Linked DNA regions of Homo sapiens: all the other regions are linked to region 3. The links are contacts of gene promoters, found by promoter capture Hi-C in human tissues and cell types (Jung and others, 2019). All regions are on one chromosome and are shown on one strand. Each heading gives the region's core, a stretch centred on a gene start or on the middle of the fragment in contact. The rest is flanking DNA. Distances are from core to core; before and after follow the strand shown.

Region 1 (3,590 bases), core at 349-2,848, 290 kb after region 3:
ATTCTAGGTGGAATTGTAGCAGGACGAGCCACAGACAAAATCTCTCGGACACCGAGTTGTAGAAGGAAGGGCTTTATTCAGCTGGGAGCATCAGCCAGCTACTGTCTCAAAATCCGAGCTTCCTGAGTGCACAATTTCTGTCCCTTCTAAGGGTTCACAACACCAAAGATTTCACATGAAAGGGTCGTGATTGATTTGAGCAAGCAAGGGGTATGTGACAGGGGCTGCATGCACCGGTGATCAGGAACAAACAGAACAGGGCAGGGAGTTTCACAATGTTCTTCTATACAATGTTTGGAATCTATGAATAACATCGGCTTCTAATTCATAAGTTGATTTTTAACTACTGGGTTTAGGCCAGGCAGGCTGAGGCCTGGCGCCGGGCTGCCTGTCTTTGATTTTACTTCCTTGTTGTTTTTACTGAGTATGAAACAATATAAAACAATATGAGAGGGTCTCTCCTCTCAGAATCAATGTGCCTCTGCATTCTTGGGGATTACAGCAAACAGAGTAAAACCAGAGAGATCCTCTCATGGAGGCTCCTTCAACACATTCTGAAGAATATTTTGACCTAAAAGGAAAAAGCTGGGGTAAACATAACTAGAGAGTTTATTTGGGCCAAAGCTTGAAGACTGCAAGCCCGGAGTATAAAGCTGCCCTGAACATACACTCCAATTAGAAGCAGTTACAAGTGTATTTTTAAAGGCAAAAAAGAAGGCAGAGAGGGGACTGATAGAAAGTTCTCAGACATTCCTATTGGTTTATAGAAGTAACACTGGTTAGTGTCTGGCTATATATATGTTAAGCCATAGGGTGTGCATTATAGTGTCCATTGTGGTATTATTAGGTTAATTTATAGCCACTGGTAGCAATAGCAAGGAATTTCAAAAAATAAATAGTTCAACGTGGGGAAAAGTAGGACTGCGGTCTCATTTTAACAAATCTCTGGGTCTGATAATTAAAAGAACTTGTATTTCTCAGACAAAAGTGCCGTTTTCTTCTCAAATCCCAGGATATTAATTTAGAATTTGGAACTGCACATTTAGGTCTTGGAAGGCTGGTAAGCTATGCACATTTGTGGGCATTTGGGCAAGGGGAGAAGAGAGAGAATTGAAGTTCTCTGGTTTAATTAATGCACTTATGTGATCCTGGTTGGGTTTATGGACCCCATGATGTCTGAACCAGTGTCAGATCTAAAGATGCCAGGAGCGCTAAAAGAAATGGAATAACTGATTGCTGTCCTGAGAAGTTATTTTTGTAGAAATCTAGTCTAACTGCTTTAGAAGTGACTGTTCCCAAATAGAGATCCCAAATAGAGAGATTTTTTTTTTTTTTGAGATGGTGTCTCACTCTCACCAGCACTTGCCCAGGCTGGAGTGCAGTCTCGCGACCTTGGCTCACTGCAGTCTCCGCCTCCCGGGTTCATGCCATTCTCCTGTCTCAGCCTCCCCTGTAGCTGAGACTACAGGTGCCTGCCACCACGCCCAGCTAATTTTTTATATTTTTAGTAGAGGCAGGGTTTCACGGTGTTAGCCAGGATGGTCTCAATCTCCTGACCTCGTGATCTGGCCACCTCAGCCTCCCAAAGTGCTGGGATTAAAGGTGTGAGCCACTGCACCCGGCTGTTTTTTTTTTGCAGCTTTGAGGAGCACTTTGCTACACTTTGTGCACTTTGCCACAAAATTGTGGATTGTGACTGGAATCCTTAGAAAAAAGGTTTTCTCTCAAGTGAGGCCTAGTGGGCACTTTATGTATAAATCTGGTAATTCTGAACAGTGTGGTAACTATAACTAAAAGCAAAATCATCTCTAATCCTAAAATACTCCCCACAATAACAGAACAGCAAGAAAATGTTCTGTTATTTAATTATACCAAACTATGATATGCATCACAGGCAATCAACTAATAGATTGCAAATACAGAAAGAACATCACCGTAATTAGTTCTCAAGTACAAGACATGACAGCACCATTTGTCATACACAGTTTATGTCACCTAGTAATTTGAGAGGTCACCTGGGCGCCTGTAGTCCCAGCAGGGTTTTCTAATTGGTAACATTCAACAGCAACAAAAAAACTTCCCACATCTTCATGGTAAGACGTAGTTTTGAAATGTTGAGCCAGGTACCTGCTGAAGGCAGCCCCCTACTTTCCTACAAAAACTGTGGCATAGGGTGTATAGACTCTTGCGATTTACATTTCAAGACAATAGTTTCCAGATCCTAGATAAAGACAATTTTCAGTCGAAAAAGACAAATGACCTAGTTAACTGATAAAAATGATTTATATATTTTTCAAAGAAGCAGAGAAAATATTTAAATATAAAAGTTTTCAAATTAAATGCTTTAAGAAAAGGGAGAAGAGCAAAAATTCTTCCCACACTCTAAAGAGAAAGCATTAAGCTTCTAATTTGTATTTGGTCCTACAACAGCCTGTTCTAAAGGCATGGTCTTGAACTTACTAACGTCTGAATTCTTGTAGGCACCTGAGGGATGGACTTGGGCACACTGTGAACACAGGAAAGAGGATTTGTGGGGAAGGAAAGAGCAGAAGAGAGGAAGGTGCCATCAAGAGCCTTGGGTGGGGGCAAGGCAGGACTGACTAAAGCACTGGTTTGTACTATAAGTGCAGGCCGACGCAGGGCTACACTCTGACTGATTCCTGAGTCCATAAGGGCAGAGGAGATTAGGATCAGGTGGTCTAGAAGACTGGGTGGTGAAGAAAGCAGATTCCTGCTACACATCTGGGGTTGAGATGAGCCAGGAGTCTTCTGGGCACTTTGTGTGTTCTTGGGAGAAAACTGTAGGAGCAAAGCTGCCATTGGGCACAATTTCTGAGGGTAGAAACCTATCCTGGAAGGAGTGTGGCCATGCCAATGCCCAGTGGGTGGGCTCAGGAGTGGGTTAGCATTGGGTGGGGGCTGGCAGCATGGTGTGAGGAAGGATGTTTCTCAGAACTCCTTTCCTCTAAGTTTCCAGTCCCCTCTCTCCCTCGGAGGAGACCTGGAGGAACAGGACAGGGCCCAGCAGGACTGCGCATGTGCAGAACCCAGTCACGCCTCCCGCAGACACCATGCTACTCCCTCCAGCCCAGGCTCAGCCCTGTCTTTCTTCTGACAGAAAACGTGAGGAGTTTGCTCAACACCAGTCAATGCTCCAACCCCAAAGCGGTGTCCAGCAACTCACTAAAGACGCCACCCAGAGTCAGCGCAGACCCCACAAGCTCAGCGCTCTTCTCGCAGTTGCCCCCCTGCAGGCACCGGTCCCTGCCTCTGGACACCCGTCTTCATTTCTGAACTCCCGCCTACAAACCAGGGGCGCCCACACCCTCCTCAAGTTCAATAATATGGCAGAACTACTCACAGAACTCAGCGAAGCGCTGTGCGCGCCCACACTAGCATATTCTAAAAGATGCGACTCCGGAACAGCCACGCGGAGGAGGCGCACAGGGCAAGGGGACTGGTGGGAAAGTGGGAGCGGGAGGGTGATTTGCTTCGCTTCCTCACACACCTCACAAAAGCCTTTCCTTTAAGACCCGCCAGCAGCCCCCAAACCACGAGCCATGGTCGGCGCTGTCCCATTAATGAGTCCC
Region 2 (3,442 bases), core at 283-2,782, 320 kb after region 3:
AATCGATTTTAAAAATCAACAATATGCTGCAAACTAGAGACTTACTGTAGATTTAAGGAAATACATAGGTTAACGATTCAAAAATGAAAAGAATATTCCATGCCAATAATAACTTAAAAAGTGTAGGAATGCCTATATTTATATGAGACTAAATAGACATCTAGAAAAAAATCTGTCATAGCTGGGCACGATGGCTCATACCTGTAATCCCAACACTTTGGGAGGCCCAGGCAGCAGAATCACCTGCAATCAGGAGTTCGAGACCAGCCTGGCCAACATGGTGAAACCCTGTCTCTACTAAAAATACAAAAATTAGCCAGACGTGATGGTGGGCACCTGTAATCCCAGCTACTAGGGAGGCTGAGGCAGGTGAATTGCTTGAACCTGGGAGGCAGAGGTTGTGGTGAACCGAGGTTGTGGTGAACCAAGATTGCACCACTGCACTCCAGCCTGGGTGACGGAGTGAGACTGTCTCAAAAAATAAATAAATAAATAAATAAAATAAAATAAAGAAAAAAATTCGTCATTAAAAAAACTTCATTATATAGTGATGAGGCTAATTTGTCAAAAGAATATAACGATTAAAAATATTTATGTATCCAATATTGGAGCACACAAATATATAAACATATGTTAACTAAACTGGAGAAAAAAACAAATATGATAGTAACAGTATAATTTATATTCTTCTCAAACACACATGGAACACTCTCCAAGACCTGTCATAAATCTGGCCCACAACAAAAATAAACAAGTCTTTTCATTTTTAAACAGACTGAAATCATATCAAGTTTTTAAATCACAATTTTATAAAACTAGAAATCAACACCGGAAGGAAATTTTAAAACTTACAAATAAATGGATATTAAACAACATGCTTCTGAACAACCAATGGGTCAAAGAAGGTAAAAGGAAATCATAAAGTATTTGAGAAAAATGAAAATAGAATCATAATATATAAAAATGAATGTAACAAAAGCAGTTCTGGGAATTTTATAGTAATATATTTTATATTTTAAAAATCTCAAATAAACCAACTTTAATCCTCAAAAACTTGAAAAATAACTAAATAATCCCAATGTTAGCATAATAAACAAAATAACAAAAATCAGACCAGAAACAAATTAGAGAATTAAAAGACAACAAAAAAGATAAAAGGCACAGAAAGAATTTACATATAAAAGTTTTCTAAATCAAAGGTTTTAAGAAAAGGGAGGAGAGTAAATACTCTTTATTTTCCAATGTGAGGATTAAGCCTCTTATTTCTATTTTGCATTTACATTTACAATAACCACACCCAAAAACTTTGCCTTGAACTCATAGAAACCTGATTTCCAGCAGGCCCTGGACTTAGGCACCTGCAGGGTGACCTTGGGCATGCTGTGTTCACATGAGAGAGGGTCTGTGGGGGGAAAATGCAGAATAAGAAAAGGTGCTATCAAGAACCATGGGTGAGGATCAGTGCACAGTTGGTAAAAGGACTGGTTAGTGCTCTAGATATTCACCCAGGCAGGGCACCTCTGACTTATAAATGTGTGCATACAGGGAGATGAGATGGTCAGGTGATCCAGAAGCCTATTCTACTGGAGAAAACAGGTTACTGGTGCAGATTCAAGATCTGGCAGGTAGAAAGAGCCCATGAGTCTTCTGGGCACTTATGTAGCCTATTAGTGGAAAACCCTAGAAGCAGAGGTGCTCTCAGCACAATTCCTGAGTGAAGCTTTGTCATGAGAGAAGCACGGCCATACCATTGCTTAGCGTGCATGTGTGTGAATGAGCAGAAATCACATTGTAGCAGCAGGTGGAGAGAAGAGTCTGCCCTCAGAAGTCCTTCCCTTTAAGTCCTCAGTCCCCTATGGAGGAGACGTAGAATCACATTACACCTAACTGTGACAACTTGTGTGCAAAAGAAGTAAAACTCTCAGCGGGGAGTGGTGGCTCATGCTTGTAATCCTAGCATTTTGGGAGGCCAAGGTGGAGGGATCACCTGAGGTCAGGAGTTCCAGACTAGCCTGGCCAACATGGTGAAACCTCGTCTCTACTAAAAATACAAAAAATTAGCCAGGCATGGTGGCACACACCTGTAGTCCCAGCTACTTGAGAGGCTGAGGCAGGAAAATCACTTGAATTCAGGAGGTGGAGGTTGCAGTGAGCCGAGATCTCGCCACTGCACTCCAGCCTGGACGAGAGTGAGACTCTGTCTCCAAAAAAAAAAAAATAATAATAATAATAATAAATTAATAAACTCTCCATTCTTCAACAGACCCACCATCTCCTTCTGACCAAGTCTGCTGTGATTTTTTTTTTTTTTAGACAGGGTCTCACTTTGTCACTCAGGCTGGAGTGCACTGGCATGATCTCAGGTCACAGCAGCCTTGACCTCTGAGGGTTCAAGCAATCCTCCAGACTCAGTCCCCCAAGTAGCTGGGAATACAAGTTCGTGCCACCATGCCTGGCTAACTTTCTGTATTTTTGGTAGAGGTGGGATTTCACCAGGTTGCCCAGGCTGGTGCTGAATTCCTGACCTCAAGCCATCTGCACTCCTCGTCCTTCCAAAGTGCTAGGATTACAGGCGTGAGCCACCACATCCAGCCTGATTATCTTTATTCCAACACCAAATATATGGAGTTTGCTGAACACCAACCAATCCTCCAACACAAACTGGGTGCCCAACAACTCAATTCTGACAACACCCAGGGTCAGCACAGACCCCACAAGTTCAGACCCAGTTCCACAACACTGCTTCCGCTGCACATGCCAGTCACAAACTCCAGGGGCCCACCTACACTTCTGAGCAACTGACTATAAATCATGGGCTTCCCTAACTCCCTCCCTCAAATTTAATAATTTGATAAAACTACTCACAGAACTTAGCAAAAACGATTTATATGTTTTCCAGGTTATTATATTGAATACAGCTCAGTAAAAGCCAAAGGGAAAAAATGTATAGGACAAAGGAAAGTGGGGGAAAAGATGAGGTGGGTAGTGAATCTTGGTAAATAGCTATGACTAAGGTCTCTCCAATCCTTTGTGATCCGCAAGAAACGCTTATTGCAAAGAAATACCCTTTTCACTATGATTTTGAAGATGCTCCCTCTTAGATATCACAAATTCACAAACTCTACATTCCCCCAGGCCCCTGGACTCTGCTCCACCTTCAGTCTGAGCTAGCATACAACCCCTCTTGATGCCCCTCCCAAGAACAGGCTGACTTCAGGGTGAAACATTCTCCAATCCTGAATCTGATTTTGCCATTCTCCATTCTGCCTTCTCCCTCTCCCACCTTCCTCTTTTTTTTTGAGACGGAGTCTCGCTCTGTCACCAGGCTGGAGCGCAGTGGTATAGTCTTGGCTCACTGCAGCCTCCGCCTCCCGGGTTCAAGTGATTCTCCTGCCTCAGCCTTCTGAGTAGCTGGGACTACAGGTGCCCACCACCACGCCCG
Region 3 (3,656 bases), core at 1,043-3,542:
CGACTGCAAGGTGTCAGGTGACCAGATGTGGAACCCTGGGGCTGGGAGCAAGGGCCAGGGCATCCCCTGCTGCCAGTCCAGTGGGGTCTGGGTGTGATCCTGAAGGGGCACTGCTGGGCTGCAGGAGTGGGGAGAACCACACCGAGGGGGGAAGCATGGTTGGGAGGCCCCCCGAGGCCACCGGGAATGTGAGAAGGGCTGCAGAGCCCCCTGCAGAGGGTTCCCAGGCCACTGGAGTCTGAGCACAGTGCTAAAGATAGCAGCAAGCCTGAGCCGGGGGAGTATCGGCTTCTGCACCCACAGCTGACCTGACAGCTGCAGAGGCCCCTGCGGGCGGTGTGCTGAGCCAGGTGGGACCCGTCCCACCACTAAGCTCTCAGGAAAGGCCTTGAGCAAAGGCAAGTCTCCATTGGCTTCAGGGGGTTTTCCCCAGGCCGTGTGTGTTTGCCCGCATGTTTTCTCTGCTGGTGCCCTGCCCCGCCCCACCTCTGGTGGAAGCTGCTGGTATGTCCCCCTCACCCCCTACCTTGGGCCCCAGAGACACTTATTTTTGATTCTGGAAGCAGGAGTTGCTGAGGAGTCTGGATTATTTTAAACTCCAGTGAAGGGAAAACCCATTGTCACCTGAGGCCGTCTGCCCTGGCGGAAGCGGGGGCTTGCCGAGGGCCAAGATGGTTCTGTGCCTTGTGGATCCAGTGTGCACCTGCGGCTTCCTCAGCGAGCAGTAGACACGGGGAGGGCTGGAGTTTGCTTCTGGCCCCCTGAGGACAGGGTTCAGGCAGAGGCCTCAGGCAGGAGTCTTCAGGGACTGCCAGCCAACCTCACAGAAGCTGGAGAAAAGATCAGGTGGCCCTACAGCAAGTACCTAACCTTTTTGGCGCCTGGGACAGGTTTCACGGAGGACAGTTTTTCCGTGTTGGGGAGGAAGGTTTCGGGATGAAACTATTCCACCTCAGTTCATCAGGCATTAGATTCTCACCAGAGCGCAATCCAGATCCAAGTGCGCAGCTCACAGTAGGGTTCACGCTCCTATGGGAATCTGATGCCCAGGCTGATCTGAAAGTGGGTGGAGCTCGGGCAATCATGCTCCCTCACCTCGTCCTGTGCTGCCCGGTTCCTAACGGGCCACAAGCTGGTACTGGTCTGCACCTGGGGGTTGGGGACCCCTGCCCTATAGGACTGGCCTTGGTATACCCAGCTCAGGAAACAGAGCCCAGTGACTTCCTAGTTTCTCAGCCAGAGAGGCCCAGGCCCTGGACCCCAGAGCAAGCCAGGAGAGGGGGCAGAGGCGACTTAGGCCCGGACAGGTAGCCCAGGCCGCCAGGATCACGGGTCCTCCCCATGCTTGCTTCAAGAGTCCTGGAGTTTGTGATGCTGCACCTTAGCGAGACCCGAGCCATAGTTCTCCAGTTGCTTCTGCCTGTAGCAGTGCAGGGCCAGGAGGGGACACAGGAGGCCTTGCGTCACTACTGCATGGGGCCAAAGGGGGCCCGAGGGTGGCCCAGCACGGGCAGCATGGCTGCCGCCAGGAAGACCCAGAACGTGGAGGGGGTGCCAGGCTCCTGCCTAGACTCCAAGCCTGGTGTCCATGGGGCTGGCGGGTCAGCACTTCGGGCACAGCGGGGAGGCTGCATAGGCACCGCAGGCCCCATCTCTGGGCAGCTGTGGGAGACACACAGCTACCGGGAGGTGGACAGAGGCCAGCAAAGACCAGTGTGGGGCTCAGTGGTCCCCAGGCCTGGGCCGGGGCAGGCCCTTGGAGCCGTGGAGTCCTGAGGCCTGGAGTCGGGGGACCCAGGGAGCAGCCTCTGTTGGGGGCTGGTCTTCCCAAGAAGATCCCAGCCCCTCTTCGGGACAGAAGTGATGGGGCATCCTGGGGTGAGGAAGCTCCAGCTCCGGGATGAAGGGCGCCCCGTGCTCCCGGGCAGAGCAGCCGCAGGAAGAGGGGCCTGGAGGCCATGCTCCCGCGGGCCGCGGAATCCAACGCGGCCCGGCCGGCGACAGACACTACTGCCTTGTAGGAGAAGGACCTGCCCGGGGAGCCACCTGCACTCGGCTCACACTCCGCTCCCAGGACCCCCAGGTCCCTGCCCAGGCCACCCTCGGGTGGGCGCGGTCCGCGGGGCTGGACCCGCCCGAGCCGCCCTGACCTCAGGCCTCCGACGCTCCGCGCAAGAAGACAGAGTGCGCCCCGGCCCGCAGTCTGGGGTGTGGACACACGGCCAGGACGCGGACGGCGGGGCCTCGGCAGCAGCGCGGGGAAACAGCGGACCCCCAGCCCTGCGGGGAAAGGAAACCCCCCGCCCACTCGGCGCAGATCCCGCCTCACGCAGCAACTGCGCAGGCGCAGCCGATGATCCTCCGCGCACTCCCCAGCCTTTGTGCGCGTGCGCCTCACGTGACGTCACCGCCGCGCGGGGGCGCGCAGTCACCCTTCGGTCGCCAGGGGGCGCGGCCCCCCGCTCTCTCGCCGCTGACGGCGCATGCGTGCGCCCAGCTCCGCCTTTGCCTCCAAGGCTTTGCTGGCTTGTGCGGCATCCTGCTCCGTCTGCAGGTTGTGCTTCCGGTGCGGAGGTCAGGGACAAGATGGTGCCACCGGTGCAGGTCTCTCCGCTCATCAAGGTGATCCAGGCTTTGCAGCCGCCGCCCAGTGCTCTGGGCCCCCCCGTGTCCCGCCCCGCAGCTCCGACCCCGCGGGCTGCGACCCCCGGCCCCCGCCCCCATGATCCTCGCCCCGTGACCCTCGCCCGGCGACCGGACCCCCACCCCTCCTGCGACCTCTGCCCAGCGACCCCGCCCCCCCTCCTCCCGCGACCCCCGTCCCGCGAGCCCCGTTTCGCGCCGCCTCTGACCAACCTCTTTCGCAGCTCGGCCGCTACTCCGCCCTGTTCCTCGGTGTGGCCTACGGAGCCACGCGCTACAGTGAGTGACCGCGGGCGGGGCCGGGGCGGGGTCTGCTCGGCTTTCCTGTGGAGCTCCTGTGCTATTTGGAGAACTCCAGCTCTGGAAGGGGGCTTGGGACGCATGCGAGGCTGCAGGACCGTGTCCTCCACCGAGCGTGACCCCGATAGTGGAATCAGCTCACCCAAAGCTCAGGCTTCTGAGGCCCGGGCGGGGGACTCGAAAACGGCTGCTTCTTGGTGAAAACGGGTGCTAAATGGCTGTTCGAGTGCTGAGGTCTTGATGGGAGGCAGTCCCTGTTCGCAGAGGACGAGTGAGCCAGTGCGTGAGCGGGTGGGCAGCAGGGGCCCTGTAGCCTCTGGGTTGGACTCGTCAGGGTGAAGGTCAGGCGTTGACTCGCATTAACATAAAGAGCGGGAACAGCAGGTGCGTCTGGTTTACAGCGTCGCTGAAGATACCTTGACCTGTGGACTCAGTTCCTTTTGTACAGCATTTCCAGTGAATTTTATTCTCCTGCATTCCGCCAAACAGATTACCTAAAACCTCGGGCAGAAGAGGAGAGGAGGATAGCAGCAGAAGAGAAGAAGAAGCAGGATGAACTGAAACGGATTGCCAGAGAATTGGCAGAAGGTACGAGTGACACTGGCTCTTATAGATTGTCCCTCCCAGGTTTGTGCAGGGATAAGGAAAATGGAGGAGGACATTTAAGCAGAGCTAAGTAGATGCGGATTGTTTAAAAATGGGGAAGCTGGCCA
Region 4 (3,643 bases), core at 179-2,678, 460 kb after region 3:
GCTTCTGCTCTCTAGGCCACTAAATATTTTCAGTTTTGTTTTTCCTAAGCCTGCCCAAGAGAGATTTTATTCCCAGAGTTTGTGTAATTTTAATCTATTTTAGACACTTCCCTGTCTATATTACAACATACAATAAGAAGGAATTTAACCAAAACCCTTATGTTTTTCTAGACCAATTATATTAGAAGCTAAATACTTATTCTTAGCAAGCTAAAAACAATACAAATAATAACAACTTCTCTTCTGTCCAGAATAGCCCTTCAGGTGGAGGGATCAAAACTTACAAAATAACAAAAGGGAAGTAATGCAAATGAAGCTTAAGCTTCCTATGCAGTTTCTGTCTCTGTACTGAACACATGATGCTGAATTCAACCATTTATTCATGTGCTCTGGACTGCAAGTTCCTTGATGGGAGGGACCACAACTGCTTCGTCTCTTTTTCTAATGACCATATAAAATAGAAGCAATTAGCTTATTAATCAGTTTGAGTCTCCAGAACCAGAAAACTGGAACAACTCTTATCTGGTTATGAACCAATGAGATTCTTTCTGTGAGGGGAGGAACAAACCCTTGATAAGTCATTTCTCTTTCTCTGAAATGGAACCAGAATTAGACTTTCTTGTCAGACTGACCCCAGTCTGCTTTGGACATCCTCAAATGTCTCAAATAACTCACTGATGCTGGTGAGAGTGTCCTCAGTGACCCTGGGCTGAAGCCCCCCATAGTGATCCAGGCAGGAGAGACTGAGGCTGACTTTGTGGAGTGCAAACAGAAAACAGAACTGCCCTGGTAGAGCTGCAGATCCTGGATCCAGATGTGATGTGCACTGTCCCTGATCAGCTAACTCTGAGACAAGAGGAAAGATGAAAGTACTCCAGTACCCCAGTATACAGGATGGCATACTTGTGATTATGGTTGTGATTATGGCTCTGTATATTTTGTGGCCCTGACCTCTCACTGCTAAGGTGCGTGTTAACACCTACAGATTCTGCCACAGGATTCTGTTCACACCAGAAGCCTCTCACACAGGTGACAAGACCTGGAAAACTCAAAGACTCCACTCTGAAAGTGGGGTTTAAGAAGACTATGTTGACTTTTCATGATGCAGAAAATGCCTTCTGTGAGTTTTCTGTATGTCTTCAACCCAAAATCTGGCCCTGTCTTGTGACTCCTAGGCAGAAGCCAGCTTTTATGTGCAGATGCTAGGTGGGATCAATGCGCCTCTGCATTCTTGGGGATTACAGCAAACAGAGTAAAACCAGAGAGAGCCTCTCATGGAGGCTCCTTCAACACATTCTGAAGAATATTTCGACCTAAAAGGAAAAAGCTGGGGTAAATAAGTAGAGAGTTTATTTGGGCCAAAGCTTGAAGATTGCAACCTTGGGGTATATAGCTGCCCTGAATATACACTCCAATTAGAAGCAGTTACAAGTGTATTTTTAAAGGCAAAAAAGAAGGCAGAGAGGAGACTGATACAAAGTTGTTAGACATTCCTATTGATTTATAGAATTAAAATTGGTTAGTGGCTGGCTATATATGTTAAGCCACAGAGTGTGGGTTATAGTGTCCATTGTGGTATTATTAGGTTACTTTATAGCCACTGATGGCAATAGCAAGGAATTTCAAAAAACAAATAGTTCAAAGAGGGGAACAGTAGGACTGTGGTCTCATTTTAACAAGTCTCTGGGTCTGATAATTAAAAGAACTTGTATTTCTCAGATAAAAGTGCTGTTTTTCTCTCAAATCCCAGGACATAAATTCAGAATTTGGAACTGCACATTTAGGTCCTGGAGGGCTGGTGAGCTATGGACATTTGTGGGCATTTGGGCAAGGGGAGAAGGGACAGAATTGAAGTTATCAGGTTTAATCAATGCACATGTGTGATCCTGGTTGGGTGTATGGGCCCCATGATGTCTGAACCAGTGTCAGATCTGAAGATGCCAGGAGCACACACGGAAGTGGAATAACTGATGGCTGTCCTGAAAAGTTATTTTTGTAGAAATATAGTCTAACTGCTCTAGAAATGACTGTAGATCCCAAATAGAGAAACCTTTTTGTTTGCAGATTTGTGGAGCACTTTGCTGCACTTTGCCACAAAATTGTGGATTGTGGCTGGAATCCTTAGAAGGAAGGTTTTCTCTAAAGGGAAGCCTGGTGGGCACTTTGTGTATACCATCTGGTAATTCTGGACAGTGTTTGGAAAATATAACTAAAAGCAAAATCATCTCCAATCCTAAAATACTCTCCAAAATAATATTAGAGCAAGATAATGATTTGTTATTTAATTAAACCAAAATATGATGTACATCACAGGCAATCTACTAATAGATTGCAAATACAGAAAGAACGTCACCGTTAGTACTCAAGTACAAGACATGACAGCACCATTTGTCATACACAGTTTATAATAACGTCAACTAATTTGGGAGGTCATCTGGGTTTTCTAATTGGTAATATTAAAAACAAACAACAACAAAAAAACAAACACTTCCCATATCTTCATGATAGGACATAGTTTTGAAATGTGGAGCCAGGTACCTGCTGAAGGCAGCCTCCTACTCGCCTACAGAAACTGTGGCATAGGGTGTATATTCTTGCTATTCGCATTTCCTAGCAATAGTTCCCAGGTCCTAAAGACAGTTTTGAGTCAAAAAAGACAAATGACCTAGTTAACTGACAAAAATGATTTACATATTTTTCAAAGAAGCAGAGAAAATGTTTAAATATAAAAGTTTTCAAACTAAATGCTTTAAGAAAAGGGAGAAGAGCAAAAATTCTTCCCTCATTCTAAAGAGAAAGCATTAAGCCTCTTCTAATTTGTATTTGGTCCTACAACAGGCAAGTCTAAAGGCATGGTCTTGAACTCACTAACATCTGAATTCTTGTAGCACATGAGGGATGCACTTGAGCAAACTGTGTGCACAGGAAAGAGGATTTGTGGGTAAGAAAAGAGCATAAGAGAGAAAGGAGCTATCAAGAGCCTTGGGTGGGGGCAGGGCAGGATTGATGAAAGGACTGGTTTGTGCTACAGGTACAGGCCCAGGCAAGACTACGCTCTGACTGATTCCTGAGTCCATAAAGGCAGAGGAGATTAGGATCAGGTGGTCCAGAAGCCTGGGTAGGTGAAGAAAACAGATTCCTGCTGCAGATCTGGGGTTGAGATGAGCGTGGAGTCTTCTGGGCACTGTGTGTATTCTTAGGAGAAAACTGTAGGAGCAAAGCTGCCATGGCCACAATTCCTGAGGGTAGAACCCTGTCCTAGGACGCGTGTGGCCATGCGAATGCCCAGTGGGCGTGCTCAGGAGCGGGTTAGCATTGGGTGGCAGCCGGCAGCAGGGTGCGGGGAAGGGATGTTTCTCAGAACTCCTTTCCTCCAAGTTCTCAGTGCCCTCTCTACCCGGGAGGAGACCTGGAGGAACAGGACAGTGCGCAGCAGGACAGTGCATGTGCAGAACCCGGTCAGGTCTCCCGCGGACACCTGCGACTCCCCCCAGCCCAGGCTCAGCCATGTCTTTCTTCTGACAAAAAAACTTGCGGAGTTTCCTCAACACCAGTCAATGCTCCAACCCCAACGGGGTGTCCAGCAACTCACTAATGACACTACCCAGAGTCAGTGCTGACCCCACAAGCTCAGCGCTCTTCC
Region 5 (3,663 bases), core at 297-2,796, 370 kb before region 3:
GTGTGTGTCAGTGTGCAGGGGTGGGTGGGTGGGTGTCTTGTGCAGATGTGTGTGTGTCAGTGTGTGGGGGTCGGTGTGTGTGTGTCTGCGGGGGTGGGTGTGTGGGTAGGTGTGTGTGTGTCAGTGTGGGGGTGGGTGGGTGTGTCAGTGTGCAGGGGTGTGTGTCGGTGGGGTGGGTGTGTGTCAGTGTGCAGAGGTGAGTGGGTGGGTGTGTGTCAGTGTGCGGGGGTGGGTTGTGTGTCGGTGTGCGGGGATGGGTGGGTGTGTGTTGGTGTGTGGGGTGGGTGTGTGGGTAGGTGTGTGTATCGGTGTGCGGGGGTGGGTGTGTGTCTGTGCGGGGGTGTGTGTCAGTGTGCAGGAGTGGGTGTCAGTGTGCAGGAGTGGGTGTGTGTCAGTGTGCGGGTGTCACTGTAGGTGTGTGTCGGTGTGGGGGGTGGATGTGTCAGTGTGTGGGGGTGGGTGTGTGTCAGTGTGCGGGGGGTGTGTTTGTGGAGGTGTGTGTGTCGGTGTGTGTGTGGGTGTGTCAGTGTGCGGGGGTGTATGTGGAGGTGTGTGTGTCGGTGTGTGTGTCGGTGTGTGTGTGGGTGTGCATGTGTAGATGTGCGTGTGTGCATGTGTGGGTGTAGGTGTGGAAGTGGGTTGGTGGGGGTTGGGTGGGGGTGGGTGTATATTTGTCTGTGTGTTGGTGTGTGGGGGTGGGTGTGTCTGTGTGTGTGTGTGTAAACTTCTGCCCAGTCCCTGCTGGGGGGCACTCTCAGACTCAGTATTTGGGGAGGCTGAGGGAGTTGAGGAGAGCAGCAGGACCCTGGACTTGGAGAACGGTTTGGAGGACGGTGGTCTTTGGTGGCTGCTCAGCTCCTTATGGCCCCAGGTGCAGGTGACTTGGTCCTGACTCCATGTTTCCTGCCAGCAGGGGAGTGTGGCCTGGTGGGTGGGGGCCCCCAGGGGAGGTAGGGCTTGCGGGAGTGTGGATACCCGGCTCCTTCGGGTGTGGCGGCACCAGTGTCCCTCCTGCCCGCTGTGCTGGTTGCTTCTCTTACTTTGCTCCCACACGGGATGTCTCCCTTTATTCTATTTTCACTTGCAGTGCTTCTGGTTTCTCCACTTTTACATCTTAGACTGAAACTTGGCAGAAAACGATGCACGATAGGATGTTTCTGAGCCAAGACCCCTTTGAGGACAGGCTGGCTGCTGATTCGAGAGCACGGCCCAGAGCATTCAAGGAGAACATCCTTGCTGTTGGGTTTGTTTTCTTTGCAGAGTGGAGCTGTGGAAGCCGACGGACACTCCTGGCTGGCTGCAGCCAGGCAGCGCAGAGGGAGGTGCGTGTTGGCAAACGTTTGTAACGCTCACTGAGCGGTGAGCAAGACGGGGCGTCGTGCTCGCCTTTTGTGAAAAGGAACAAAAGTGCTGCCGGATTCCTGGCCTGGGTGGAGCCCCATTCACATGACCCCCAGGGGCTGGGGTCACCCCCTGAGGTCCCTCCGTGGCTCCTCGCCTGCTCCGGTGGGGCTGGGGGAGGTGGCTTAGCTGAGGCTGCACCTCCGGGGGAGGAGCTGACAGGCGCCAGCACACACATGCAGGGGTGTGTGTGTGTGTGTGTGTGTGTGTGCACTCGCCAGCGCCTCCCCCCGGGGGGTGCAGCCTCAGCTAAGCACACACACACACACACCTACATGCACACATGTGCACCGACACACACACATGCACACACAGTTCTAGAATGACCACCCTCACCACCTCAAGACTGGCCATCGGAGGGGCCACACTCAGAGGCACGGCGGCTCGAGTGGCCAGCGCCAGCAGGCGGGAGCAGCAGGAGGGGAGCGGGTGCCGCCAGCCCTGCGGTGGCCGTGGGCCTGCCACCCATGAGGCCGAATTGCTCATGGAACTCATGGCCCCAGCTCCAGCCCTGTGGAACCAGCGGCCCTCCCACCCTCCACAGGGGCAGCTGAGCTTCCAAAGGCGAAGGCTGGAATCCAGTCCTTGGAACAATTTCCAGATGTTTTTGGCGTTAAAGTGCCTCCTGTGAAACTGGGGGTGCAGCCGGGCTGCCAGCCTGGGGTCTCCGGTCTACCCAGTGGGCACTTTTGTCATTTGGTCTGGCAACCATGCCACTCTGAAGAATGCTCTCTGCCCTCCAAGGAGAGCAGCCAGCCAGCGGGAGGCCTGTGCCGGGCAGTGGGCACGGGCCCTGACCCCAGCTTGGGGAGGGGCCTGGCATGGCAGGAACATCCTTACAGGCCCCAAAGCTTTAGCACAGTGGGAAGAGTGCACGGCACCTCTGAGCCTGCTCCCCAGGGGCACTAGGCCAACCAGGAGCCTGCCTGCCAGCACCCTCCGCAGCCCACCCTGCCTGGGTGGACAGACGGAGGCAGCCTGGGACCCCCTTGCCACGTGCCCCTCTGCAGTCCTGGTCACCCCATTGTTCAAGGGGTGCTAGGACCCTGAGCACTGCCCTGACCCTAGGCAGTAGGGAAGTGAGGGACACACACACGAGAACACACACGCCATCCACACACACACACACACACGAACGCACACGCCATGCACACACACAGAGCACCCACATGTGCACTTGCTCAAGTGTGCACAGACGCACGTGCATGGAAACCCCAGTACACGTGTACATCCCCACTCATGCACATGTACACACACACACACGAAACCCCAGCCCCACACACAACTACAGCACCAGGTGACACCTTTGCAGAAAAGGGATCGTGAAGCCTCAGACCCAAGTCAGGACTCAGAGCCCGGAAGCCTGTGTCTGCACCGGGCTCCCTCGCCTCCTGCCAGTGAGGCCCTGCCAGGCTGGGGAGGTGCCTGAGGGAGCGGCAGGAATGCAGAACCTGGGCACACCTGGGAGATGAGGCCTCCTACAGCCAGGCTCCCTGACCACGGTGTGGGCTGCAGCCTGCCATGGCCAGGTGCTGCCCATTTCAGGACCGAGGGTTCCTCAGTGACAGGCCCACAGGCTCCAGGCCACAAGGACCTCAGTTTCCCCACCTCCCTGGACCTGGGCTTGGGCCCCAGTTGCCCATCTAGGTGGCAGGGGCCCAGTGTCCCTAGGCTGTGACAACAGGGCTGCTCCCCAGAACTGCAGCACCAACCCTCCCCTCCCAAGGCCCCCAGCCCCTCACTCCCACTGGGCCGGGTGCCCACCCTCCACAGGGCCGGCAGGAACAACCACATTGGCCTGGTGAGCACTCGTTTGGGAAACTGGATATATTTGCAATTTTTAAAACGCTCAGAGCCAACATTCAAAATGGGGCTGTTTTTCCAGTGGAAAATGTAACATGAGCCCAGAACCACTCCCGCTCACACAGAGGCCCGCCCCCACCACCACCGCCACGCCTGGGCCAGGGCTTTACTCAGGGCCAAGCCTGGCCAGCTCCTGCGGCCCCGGCCCAGCACCCGCCACCCCCCCACACACCTGAAGCCTTCAGACCAGTGTGCAGGAGAGGCTGAGGGCAGCTGCCCAGGGCAGACAAGGGCGCAAGGGGCAGGCAGAAGGCCCTGAAGACCCCCCGCCATGGCTGGGTAGGCTCTGTCTCAGGGGTGTTCAATCAAATCAAGGGCCGCTTGGCCTCATACAGCCAGGCCCCTCTGCCCCCCAGGTGCCACAGAGAACCCGGCAACCACAGGGCAGACCCTTCCCCT
Region 6 (3,596 bases), core at 904-3,403, 300 kb after region 3:
ATTTTGCTCTGGGTAGTTGACAAGCATTCATTAAATTCATTATAACCTCCTTTCTGCAACTTACACTCATTCAAACTTTTACAGCCTTTTCTTAATTGTAAATTATCATGTCCACATTTCTCATATCTTCTCAGTATAAGTTTGTGGAATGAATCTTCTATGCCCTGCACTGGCCAATGGTCTTGGGTGAAATGAGAACACATAGCTGAAAGAAATAAAAATTACAAATTATCCCACTTAGTAGATTCATATAAATATACTTTACAAATCTTATGAAATTATTCAAAATACATTAGTAAGATGGCATAACAAAATCCCACAGGCCATAACTTCTTCACAGACATATACATGTAGCAAACATATACTAACAAAGACACCTTTCTGTGAAATCTATAAATGAGTTAATTGTATGCAATGCCTCAGGTAAGCAAAATGCCAAGAGCCACATAGAACAGGAAGGAATGTTTGTTACATTTACCCACCAACAGCTCTTCCTCCTCCCCAATATAGCACTGTGCCATTAGGAGTGAAGTATCAACTCCTGGCTTCTTCCTTTAAAGAGAAGAAAAATACTGATACACATATCCTTACTTCTGGCTTTTGAGTGTCTTTACAAAACCTGGTTTCTGTCTCCAATACCACAGAGTGCTGATAGAAATGGTGATACACTTTGGGAGGGATTGGGTCTGCTGAAAGCAAATGTAAATGTTTCAGGAGCAGACTGCAGTGCTAAATACAGGCAACACGTAGAACAAGTGATTAGAGACTGTTAAGAAGAAACATGAACAAACCCTTTTAACTGAAAAATAAACACAAAATTCCAGAGAGGACACATCCTTAGAACATGTATGAGAGGTTACCATAATCTCTATCAAGGACAATTGGTTTCAGACTATGTCAGGAAAAAGCTACATTGTAAAGATTGTGACAAATAGCTTTTTGTTAATGTACAAATAACAACCAAACATGACAATGTATACAAAATATTAGAACAACACAGTCCAACAATTTAAAAATTTTCAGAAAAGGGAACGGGCATGGTGGCTCACACCTGTAATCCCAGCACTTTGGGAGGCTGAGGCGGGTGGATCACGAGGTCAGGAGATAGAGACCATCTTGGCTAACATGGTGAATCACCGTCCCTACTAAAAATACAAAAAAACTAGCCAGACGTGGTGATGGGTGCCTGTAGTCCTAGCTATGCGGGAGGCTGAGGCAGGAGAATGGCGTAAACACAGGAGGCAAAGCTTGCAGTGAGCCGAGATCATGCCACTGCACTCCAGCCTGGGAGACACAGCGAGACTCTGACACACACACACACACACAAATTATCACAAAAGGTGAGGCATGGTGGCTCATGCCTGTAATCCCAGCACTTTGGGAGGCCGAGGAGGGCAGATCACGAGGTCAAGAGATTGAAAACATCCTGGCCCAAATGGTGAAACTCTGTCTCTACTAAAACTACAAAAATGTGCTGGGCATGGTGGCCCATGCCTGTAGTCCCAGCTACTCGGAAGGCTGAGGCAGGAGAATTGCTTGAACCCGGGAGGTGGAGGTTGCAGTGAGCCAAGATTGCACCATTGCACTCCAGCCTGGGTGACAGAATGAGACTCCATCTCAAAAAAAAAAAAAATTCCAGAACAAAAATTAAAAATGAAGATGTACAAAGTTTTAAAATTTGACCTGAATAAAACTCAATGAGCTAAATGGTAACAAAACTAAATATAATTAAAATATATATATATATATAAATGAAAACATTAAAAATATAAAAAACATGGAGGTGAAAAATACAAAAATAATGCCTGAGAAATTTTCAAAAGTTAAAAAAAGATGTGGCCAGGCATGGTGGCTCATGCCTGTAATCCCAGCACTTTGAGAGGCCGAGGCTGGTGGATCAGGAGGTCAGGAGAGTGAGACCATCCTGGCTAACACGGTGAAACCCTGTCTCTACTAAAAATACAAAAAAAATTAGCTGGGCGTGGTGGTGGGCACCTGTAGTCCCAGCTATGCGGGAGGCTGAGGCAGGAGAATGGTGTGAACCTGGGAGGCGGAGCTTGCAGTGAGCCAAGATTGTGCCACTGCATTCCAGCCTGGGCAACAGAGCAAGACTTTCATTTCAAAAAAAAAAGAAGGAGCTCAACAAACTTCAACTAGGATATACAAGGAGATTTATAACAAAGCACATAATAAGCAAAGTTTTAAAAGTCAAAGGCAAAAATGGAATCTTAGAAGCGGCAAGATAAAAGTGATGTGTGATTTGTAAGTATGCTCTTATAAGATAACAAGTGAATCTGTCAACATTTTTTCAGACAAGAGAAAGTTGCGATATAGTTAACGTGCTGAAGGAAAAATAGCTTCTAAGTAGGAATAATATAACCAGTAAAACAGTCCTAAAAATGAAGAAAAAGTAAAGGCCTTTCAAGATAACCAAATGCTGAAAAGTATATTAGCACAACACCTGCCTTATAAAAAAAAATGCTGAACTATCTTCCATTGAAAATAACAGGATGCAAGAAAAAAAATATGATGATATGAAAATACATAACTTTCTGAAAAACATATGCACAAACACAAATATAAAGTTCTGTATCATTATAATAGTGCAAAAAAGTTTTTCTCTAAAATTTAAAGGATAAAAGCATAAAAATGATTATAAACTATTCATCATAATCTGGTAATAAATATACAGCAAAAAAATATGATTAGTGACATCAATAACAACATTCAGGGCAGATGTAAAGAGGAAGAATTTTCAAATGCAATTCAAGTTACATTTTTAAGAGTTTAAAATATATTATTTTGGCCAGGCCCAGTGGCTCATGCCTGTGATCCCAGCACTTTGAGCGGCTGAGGCAGGTGGATCACGAGGTCAGGAGATCGAGATCATCCTGGCCAACATGGTGAAACCCCGTCTCTACTAAAAATACAAAAATTAGCTGGGCATGGTGGCGTGTGCCTGTAGTCCCAGCTACTCAGGAGGCTGAGGCAGGAGAATCGCTTGAACCCAAGAGGCAGAAGTTGCAGTGAGCTGAGATCATGCCATTGCACTTCAGCCTGGGCGACACAGTGAGACTCCCTCTCAAAAAAAAAAAAAAAAAAAATATATATATATATATATATATATATATCTCTTTAAGAAATTTTTCAGAATTCCCAAGATACCACAAAGGTATAGATACACAAAAGTATAAGAAGTAAAGTCCTATCAACACAAAAATCTAAAAGACAAACAGGAAGACAGAAAAAGAAAATAAGGGACAGAGATAAAATAATCCAGTAAAACAATTTATAAAACAGGTAAGCCTTTCTATTTCAGCAAATTATTCAAATATTTATGAAGTAAACTTTCCATTCAAAATACATGCACCAAATAAAGGGACTGATTGCAAAAATTAAAAAACAAGATCCAACTTGTTTTTCTACAAGAGTCACTTGAGGTCTAATGATTAAAGGAGACTGAAAAAGGCAAGATGAAAGAAGACATTTCATGGAAATAACCAAATAAGAGGAGAACAGGTCCAAGTTATATAACACAAAGTACATCTTAAGTCAAAAACTCTATTTCATAAAATATACTTTAACTAAAAGCTCAT

The links. The method cuts DNA at HindIII sites, captures the fragments that hold promoters and counts their contacts. A contact is called where the count stands out against the background at its distance.
Region 1: a contact is called between a fragment that was not itself captured here and the fragment with the promoter of MYL5 in region 3, in 2 of the 25 tissues and cell types used here (dorsolateral prefrontal cortex and lymphoblastoid cells).
Region 2: a fragment that was not itself captured here is called in contact with the fragment with the promoter of MYL5 in region 3 in 1 of the 25 tissues and cell types used here (lymphoblastoid cells).
Region 4: a fragment that was not itself captured here is called in contact with the fragment with the promoter of MYL5 in region 3 in 1 of the 25 tissues and cell types used here (dorsolateral prefrontal cortex).
Region 5: a contact is called between a fragment that was not itself captured here and the fragment with the promoter of MYL5 in region 3, in 1 of the 25 tissues and cell types used here (IMR-90 fibroblasts).
Region 6: a fragment that was not itself captured here is called in contact with the fragment with the promoter of MYL5 in region 3 in 1 of the 25 tissues and cell types used here (lymphoblastoid cells).

Annotation. Positions count from the first base shown.
Region 1 is chr4:386,706-390,295 of GRCh38, reverse strand. No RefSeq gene overlaps it. Among named protein-coding and RNA genes, the nearest start is that of MIR571, 38 kb to the right of the region's middle. The HindIII fragment of the contact is 3,449 bases long and covers 1-3,322 here.
Region 2 is chr4:352,243-355,684 of GRCh38, reverse strand. The region is part of intron 3 of ZNF141 (zinc finger protein 141); the gene reads right to left. Among named protein-coding and RNA genes, the nearest start is that of MIR571, 3.8 kb to the right of the region's middle. The HindIII fragment of the contact is 3,181 bases long and covers 1-3,122 here.
Region 3 is chr4:673,178-676,833 of GRCh38, reverse strand. MYL5 (myosin light chain 5) reads right to left here and starts at 2,292. Exons shown (of 9, transcript NM_002477.2): 1 at 2,151-2,292; 2 at 625-761. It overlaps ATP5ME (ATP synthase membrane subunit e), which reads left to right and starts at 2,558. Exons shown (of 4, transcript NM_007100.4): 1 at 2,558-2,622; 2 at 2,868-2,922; 3 at 3,433-3,531. The coding sequence starts at 2,587. It also overlaps a transcript of SLC49A3 not described here. RefSeq lists enhancers at 1,722-1,791, 1,669-2,426 and a silencer at 2,002-2,271. The HindIII fragment of the contact is 2,744 bases long and covers 2,019-3,656 here.
Region 4 is chr4:213,561-217,203 of GRCh38, reverse strand. It overlaps the pseudogene ZNF876P. Among named protein-coding and RNA genes, the nearest start is that of ZNF732, 90 kb to the left of the region's middle. The HindIII fragment of the contact is 3,201 bases long and covers 1-3,028 here.
Region 5 is chr4:1,039,382-1,043,044 of GRCh38, reverse strand. The region is part of intron 1 of LOC105374343 (a long non-coding RNA gene); the gene reads right to left. Among named protein-coding and RNA genes, the nearest start is that of FGFRL1, 30 kb to the right of the region's middle. RefSeq lists silencers at 945-1,126, 1,507-1,705 and an enhancer at 3,235-3,663. The HindIII fragment of the contact is 9,265 bases long and covers 1-3,663 here.
Region 6 is chr4:369,273-372,868 of GRCh38, reverse strand. It overlaps ZNF141 (zinc finger protein 141), which reads right to left. Exons shown (of 4, transcript NM_003441.4): 4 at 1-205. Among named protein-coding and RNA genes, the nearest start is that of MIR571, 21 kb to the right of the region's middle. The HindIII fragment of the contact is 3,666 bases long and covers 321-3,596 here.